Linked DNA regions of Homo sapiens: region 1 is linked to region 2. Evidence: promoter capture Hi-C in 16 types of primary human blood cells and fetal thymus (Javierre and others, 2016). All regions are on one chromosome and are shown on one strand. The core of a region is centred on a gene start or on the middle of the fragment in contact, and the rest is flanking DNA. Distances in the headings are between cores, read along the strand shown. Region 1 overlaps DNAJC16 (DnaJ heat shock protein family (Hsp40) member C16). Region 2 holds the start of RSC1A1 (regulator of solute carriers 1).

What was found. The method cuts DNA at HindIII sites, captures the fragments that hold promoters and counts their contacts. A CHiCAGO score of 5 or more calls a contact.
Region 1: a fragment that was not itself captured here is called in contact with the fragment with the promoter of RSC1A1 in region 2 in 1 of 17 cell types (M2 macrophages); the score reaches 6.3 in M2 macrophages.

What each region holds. Positions count from the first base shown.
Region 1 is chr1:15,557,436-15,561,445 of GRCh38, reverse strand. It overlaps DNAJC16 (DnaJ heat shock protein family (Hsp40) member C16), which reads right to left. Exons shown (of 15, transcript NM_015291.4): 8 at 1,790-1,920. Among named protein-coding and RNA genes, the nearest start is that of AGMAT, 26 kb to the left of the region's middle. The HindIII fragment of the contact is 8,182 bases long and covers 1-4,010 here.
Region 2 is chr1:15,657,724-15,661,551 of GRCh38, reverse strand. RSC1A1 (regulator of solute carriers 1) reads right to left here and starts at 1,839. Exons shown (of 1, transcript NM_006511.3): 1 at 1-1,839. The coding sequence starts at 1,683. It overlaps DDI2 (DDI proteasomal shuttling factor 2), which reads right to left. Exons shown (of 10, transcript NM_032341.5): 10 at 1-1,715. The HindIII fragment of the contact is 1,265 bases long and covers 1,139-2,403 here.

The sequences.
Region 1 (4,010 bases), core at 1,075-3,574, 100 kb after region 2:
CCCAAAGTGCTGGGATTATAGGCGTGAGCCACTGTTCCTGGCCGGCAGGGCCTTTTAGAAACTATTTGTCCTAGTTCTTCCAGTATAGGGAGGGCTGGTCAAATCTCTCTCAGGCCAGAGGCCACTGAGCCTCATTCTGAACGGCTTCCTTTGCAAGGTTCCAATGGAAAGTTTAGCTATTCATTCTCCCAAAAATATTTACTGAGCACTTAGTATATGTCAGGTAATATAGACAATATTATTGCCCTCATGGAGCTTATATTCCAGTGGGGAAGACAGAAAACAGATATATTATGACAGGTATCAACAAGTGCTATATATTAAAAAAAAAAAAAAAGATGAAAAGGGGACAGAGAGAGGCCAGAGTGGGTAGAAGCCAGGCTCCATCAGACAGGTTGGTCAGGGAAGTGCCAACTGAAAAGGTGACATTGTTATGACAGGAAATGGGGTCAGAGCATCCCAGGTAGAGAGACTACAAGTGCAAAGACCCCAGGATGGGGAGTGACTGGATCTGATTTGCATTTTCAAACATTATTGGCTGACGTGTGGACATCTGCCTGGAGGGTACAAGAGTGGAATGGAGCAGAGAGACTAGTTAGAAGGCTGCCAGGGGGGTCTCGCTGGGAGACGATGGTGGCTTGTTCCAGGGTGGCAGTGGTTAAAAAAAGTGAGAAGTGTGTGGATTTGGGATATTTTTTGAAGGCTGTGTAAACAACAATCCTTACAGTCCAGGATATTCTTTTTTTATATTTAAGTCATTTTTTTCTTCGCTCTTAAGACTATAAAGGAATCTGAAAAGCCTAGACACACAGGGAAATTATGTTTTATATTTTCAAGTTACATGATTGATATGTTTTCCTTCCATATCCAGATACCTTTTACAGATGAAACAGCCCTAAATTTAAAGCTACTGATTCATTCACCTGAGAAGGTGTAATGAATACATTCCCTGAATTTCTAGACTTTTTAGATACTTTGTATAATAACTCTTCCTACTTTATTGAATACATGTAACTTAGCCTTCCCGATTCCCACCAATCCATTTCCTCAATACTCTGTACTTCCCTACTGTTTAATTGTTATCCTTGCTCCTTCCCAAGACCTCCAAAGACTCACCCTGTGTGGAATGCTTTAGTAGGGACAGTCACTCTTCCATATTCTGTGCTTCTGTAAAGTGACCCAGTCTATCCCAGACGCCTGGCTAAACTGTGCTCATCCTTCAGGTCTCAGCTGAAATGTTACATCTTAGGGAAATCTTCTCTGACCACTAGGACAGGCTGGCACATCTGACAATTTGGTGCTAAAGTGCCCTGGACTAATACATCATATTAGTATGATTACCATCACAGTCACTAATCAGTGTTTTTTTTTTTTTTTTTTTTGAGACAGAGTTTCACTCTTGTTGCCCAGGCTGGAGTGCAATGGCATGATCTCGGCTCACCGCAACCTCTGCCTCCCAGGTTCAAGTGATTCTCCTGCCTCAGCCTCCCTAGTAGCTGGGATTACAGGCATAAGCCACCATGCCCGGCTAATTTTGTATTTTTAGTAGAGATGGGGTTTCTCCATGTTGGTCAGGCTGGTCTTGAACTCCGGACCTCAGATGATCCGCCCTCCTCGGCCTCCCAAAGTGCTGGGATTACAGGCATGAGCCACCATGCCCGGCCCAGTATTTGTTAAATGAAGAATAAGTTCTCAATGTTACAGGGCAGATGTCTAGTCACCCTATAGTAAAATGAATCATGATCCTTCTATTGTAATAACAAGCAGAGGCAAAGCCTTAAGTCCTTACTTCCTCTGTCGATGCGACCGTTTCACAGGGCAGAGTTCATGGAACAACTTCTGGCTGGTGAGCCTGGCTGCCAATAGATATTTGTTTCGGGTGATGAAGTCGTCAATGATTTGCTTCTTCATACCTCGGGCCTAGAGAAAAACCAAGAATCAGCTAGATTTTATGCAGTGTTCTCAATGCAAATAGATGGGCTTTCTTTACTTACCAGCTTAATAAAAACGTAGCTGACCTTGGCTAAAGTAATATAACCAAACAAGACAGACCTGTTTGAGCGAATAAACATGTGGTGATCTATTTCAGCAATGCAGGGCTGAAAGCAATGATGCAGCTATTTCGGGTCAAAGGGAAAATCAAGTACACTTTCCACTGGAGAATTTTTATTCACTGTTTTATGCTGACAAATTAAAAAAGTCAGTCATGGCCGGACGTGGTGGCTCACATCTGAAATCCTAGAACTTTGGGAGGCTGAGGTGGGTAGATCACGAGGTCAGGAGTTTGAGACCAGCCTGGCCAACATAGTGAAACCCCGTCTCTGCTAAAAATACAGAAATTAGCCAGGCATGGTGACGTGTGTCTGTAGTCCCAGCTACTTGGAAGGCTGAGGCAAGAGAATCAGTTGAACCTGGGAGACGGAGGTTGCAGTGAGCCGAGATCACGCCACTGCACTTTAGCCTGGGCGACAGAGCGAGACTCCATCTCAAAAACAAAACAAAACCAAACACAAAACAAAACAAAAACCCAAAACGAAAAGTCAATCATTTTGAATTTTAGGCAAAATTATTTCCATTCAGGATTTGTAGCGAACTGGGCAATTAAAAATAAATCCCAAAGCAACAATGTTGCAAAGTATAAAAGGCAGGTTACAAAACCGTGTGACCATTTTATTGCTAACTTTCACACATTTCAAAGGATTGAAATCATTGACAGCAGGTATTCTGACCACAAGGTAATTAACCTAGAATTCCATTTAAAATGCAAACCAGAAATGTAAACATTTCCCTTTATGTTTGGAAATTAAGAAACACGGCCAGGTATGGAGGCTCATTCCTCTAACCCAAATGCTTTGGGAGGCCAAGGCAAGAGGATCCCTTGAACCCAAGAGTTAGAGACCAGCCTGTGCAACATGGAGAGATCCCATCTCTACAAAAAATTAAAAACAAACAAACAAAAGGCCAGGCACAGTGGCTCACTCCTATAATCCCCGAACTTTGGGAGGCCGAAGCAGGAGGATTGCTTGAGCTTAGAAGATCGAGACCAGCCTGGGCAACATAATGAGATCTTGTCTCTACTAAAAATAAAAAAACATTAGCCAGGCATGATGGTGGTGCATGCCTGCAATCCCAGCTACCTGGGAGGTGGAGGTGGGAGGACTGCTTGAGCCCAAGACTTAAGAGACTGCAGTGAGCTAGGATCACACCACTGGACTCTAGCCTGTGTGACAGACTGAGACCCTGTCTCAAGAAAAAAAAAAAAAAAAAAAAAAAAGGGCTGGGTATGGTGGCTCATGCCTGTAATCCCAGCACTTTGGGAAGTCAAGGCAGGTGGATCACTTGAGGTCAGGAGTTCAAGACCAGCCTGTGCAACATAGTGAAACCCTGTCTCTACTAAAAGTACAAAAATTAGCCAGGCGTGGCCTTAGTCCCAGCTACTCAGGAGGCTGAGGCAGGAGGACTGCTTGAGGCTGGGAGAGCATACCAGCCTGGGCAACGGGAGTGAAACCCTGTCTCATAAAAGAAAAAAAAGGAAAAAAAAAGTTGTTAGCTGGGCATGGTGGCATGTGCCTGTAGTCCCAGCTACTTGGGAGGTTGAAGGGTGAGGATCACTTGAGCATAGGAGGCCAAGGCTGCAGTGAGCCATGATGACATCACTACACTCCAGCCTGGGTGACAGAGCAAGACTGACTAAAAAAGAAAAAAAAAAAACCAAAACAAGAACGCCTATCAGATATTAGAAAATATTTTGAACTTTAATGACTGATGAAAAATACTATTTATAAGAACTCTGAGATACATATAAAGTAGTACTTGAAGGGGAATTTTACAATTAACATAATAGAAAAGAAGTTAATGAAATAAACATCTGTCAAGTCAAAAACAGCAAAAATATAAAAGTAGAAAGGAAATAATACAGATAAAAATAGAAATTAATGAAACAAGAAATGAATATATTAATATAAGAAGAAGAATTAACAAAGACAAAACTGGTTCTTTGAAAAAGCTAA
Region 2 (3,828 bases), core at 590-3,089:
TGATGGATGGCTGGTAGGTGGTTCATATTCAAGTAATGGCCTCGAAGCATCAGGACAGACATTTTCTCTGGTTTCAGGCCTGTCTGTTACTGAATTCTGTATGCCCTGACCTAAGTCTTTAACCAATATGAAATTGGATGACAAAGACTTAGTTTGCTCAGAAGTCTGATTGAGTGCATCCTCCTCACCTGCTAAAAGTTTGGGTGAAATTTCTACACCTAAGGTGCAGTGTAACTGATTGGATGTTTTAGCTGAGGTTACAGTGACAGAACGGTTCTTATTTATGGATTCCCTAGATTTGGGGACACCTTCCTTATCGGTTGACAGGCCATCACCTAGACTCCTGAAGTTTACATTTTCTACAGCTTCTCTTCCAGTGTCAGATGAAGTACCTGTTAATTTTTCTGTCTCCACTGATACAGATATGGCCTGATGAAAGGAGACTTGTGGACACTGTTCATTCTGGGTAAGATGCTCATTTTGGGTCCATCTTTCAGAAAGGTCTTTAATACTGGTTTGGCCCTCAGCTATGGTTTCTGATTGACAGATTACTTCTTCAGATGTATTTTCTGAAGCTGGTTTACTGCTAACAACCAAAAGTTCATGAAGTTCTTTCAAGGCTGCCGTTATAGACGGGCAAGATTCTTCTGCTGACTCCACAGAAGGCTGACAACTGCCACAGAGACTTGGAGAGGAGTAATGGCCATATTCTTTATTTGTTCCAGGTATTTCAACATTAGTTTCTGGGGGCTGTAAATCCTGAGTGGAAATGGAATCATTCAAAATTTCAGATGAAGGGTTACATTTTGATGTTTCTACTTCCATCAAGGGATTATCTAAAGTGAGATCCAATGCACCAATGTTCTTGACATTGGCATTCTGCCTGCCTGTTGAATTAAGCAAAGTAACTAGGGACTGTTGAGCTGTATCGATTTCCATAAATGTTTCTGAATTTGAGCAGCCACTGCATTCTGAAGATGGAATACTTTTCTTCGCACTTGGAGGATCCACATTCTGTGGGAGCCCATTTCCTTTCATCGTAGCTTCCAAATCAACAATTTTGTGTTGATTCTGTTGCCTTTCTTCAGGAAGCTCAAGGTCCCCTATGTTACAAAGATATTCTTGGTCATGTGAAGCTTTTTGTTGTGCAACCTCATACTGTTCATTCCCTGGTTCTTCGTGCTGCTGAGGGTCACTCACTTGACTCAGGTTCTGATTTTCTGGATGCCAATCCTTTTCACCTAGAAACATCTGTGGTTCATGCATCCTAGTAGATGTGACAGATAAACTAGCTTCCTGTCTTGTATGGAGATGAAATTTGAGGCCCTGGGTGCTTCTTTCAGCAGATTTCTCCAGATTACCTGCAACAGTTATTTCTTCGGATGAATTCTGCATAGGCATAGCTGGACTCTGGTCTGTTGGAGCATGGTCTGCTGAGGAAGCATGATCAGAAAGATCTTGTAAAGAAAGATGTTCTTTCTTTTCAGAGTTTAGCTGGAATTCAGCTGAAGCCTTCAAAGCCTTCACAGCTTTAGGTTCAATGCGATCTGAGTCACTGGGCTTGATAGGGCAGACTGAAGCAGAGACAGAGCGAGCAAGACTCATAGGATTACCAACATCAGGACTCTGTCCTGAAGAACGGGCGGGATGGTTAAACCCATCTGAAGTTGGTAATGATGACATTCCCAGTGAGGTAGATTCTTTACCACTTTTCTCTATATGGAACACAGGGGAAAGGAAAAAGATTAATTAGCAGGTGACTAATGCCACTAAATTACCAGAGGATACAAATCTAAACAGCGTAGAATAAAATAAGGTCCTCAAACTCGGGTTTCTCTTACACAAATAGAAATGATTTTAAAATTACTTTCTCATTGTGGTAGACATTCACAGCATCAGAATAAGAGGTAGACATGTTCTTAATAAAATCTGCATACTGTAATTCAATGTGATTAAGTATCCATTAATATGCATTCACATAATGGCGGGGTTAGTGCTCAGGAATGAAGGACATTTATGTTTCTTTATTCCCTAGTCTAGTCTACAACTCTAGAATAGTTTCTCCAAGTGTACTTTTTTCACCACTTGCCCTAAAACCACCAGGGACGCTTGTGAAGTATGCAGACCCTGGGGTACCATACTTGAGAGTAAATCCAGGAATGTGCATTTTCAATAAGCTCCTTGGGTGATTCTTAAGGATATTACAAATCCTGAGAATCTTTGCACCAGAATGATTCTCATGTTAATGCACTTTTCTTGTTTCAAATGTGAACACTGAGGTTACAAATGAGAAGTCTTAAACCAGGTATACCTGGACAGAGAGGGAATTATAAAGAGAAATAAGAAATAACATAATGCTTGGGGACAGAGAAGCAAATGTTCTATTTTATTTCTAGCCAAGCTTTCCAAAAATCATGGTAAAACTGGGTGAGCATCTGACTCAGAAAACAAAAGTAAACTAATGATCAGCAGATTAAATCACAATCATCATCCTACCAAATAATACAACTCTAAACTTAAAAGGCTTATAAGTTTTTATCACATCAATAGTGTGCAACTAAGTTAAGAATATTTAAATGTTTTAAAGAAAGGGGAATGTGGAGGGAGATGGTTCATTAATAGTTTTTCAACTGGCAATGACTATTTAGATTCACTGCTACCTTAGACCACCCAAACAAGACGGCTCAGTGTAAGCATCATAGTATCATTAAACATCATTTCCAGCTCTTCTTTTGCCACCAATCCAGTTAAAAATTGACCTCTACGCATGTAAGTGTAAGAATTTTTTTTTTTTTTTAAGACTGTGTTTTGCTCTTGTTGCCCAGACAGGAGTACAATGGCGCCATCTGAGCTCACCGCAACCTCCGCCTCCCGGGTCCAAGCGATTCTCCTGCCTCAGAGTAGCTGGGATTACATGCATGCGCCACACACCCGACTAATTTTGCATTTTTAGTAGAGATGAGGTTTCTCCACGTTGGTCAGGGTGGTCTCAAACTCTTGACCTCAGGTGATCCGCCCGCCTCAGCCTCCCAAAGTGCTTGGATTACAGGCAAGAGCCACCGCACCCGACCATTGTAAGATCTTTAATTAAAAATCAAAAAGGGCTGGGCACAGTGGCTCATGCCTGTAATCCCAGCACTTTGGGAGGCCGAGGCAGGTGGATCACCTGAGGTCAGGAGTTCGAGACCAGCCTGGCCAACGTGGTGAAACCTCATCTCTACTAAAAATACAAAAATTAGCCAGGCGTGGTGGTGGGTGCCTGTAATCCCAGCTACTAGGTAGGCTGAGGTGGGAGAATTGCTTGAACCCAGGAGGGAGAGGTTGCAGTGAGCCAAGACTGCACCACTGCACTCCAGCCTGGGTGACAGAGTGAAACTCAGTCAAAATAAAAAATAATAATAATAAAAAATAAAAATCAAAAGGTCAGTAACAAAAATGACTTCAAAATACAATCTATTATTAGGACAGATGCAACTCAAATGCTCAGTACTAAATGTTAACATCCAACAAGAGGGCTTGATCTTAAAAAGCAGCAAAGCAGTTATATTCAAAAGGCTTTAAATCATTCTAATAAACTACTGGTTAACAGCATGAGAAGACAAAGCATTGTTTCAGGAAGCTATTGACTTCCCATGAAACAATCTTACCTTACTTACACTTTAGGAGTAAAAAGGAAAACTGCACTTATCTCAGTTTAGGCTATACCCATTAGAGTCTAGAAACACAGTTATTAGTTTTTTTATTTTCATACCACCAGATGTCTAACAGTTATTAGTTTTATTTAAAACTAAGGCTGACTCTGGAAGAGGTTGAATTTTGAACTAATGT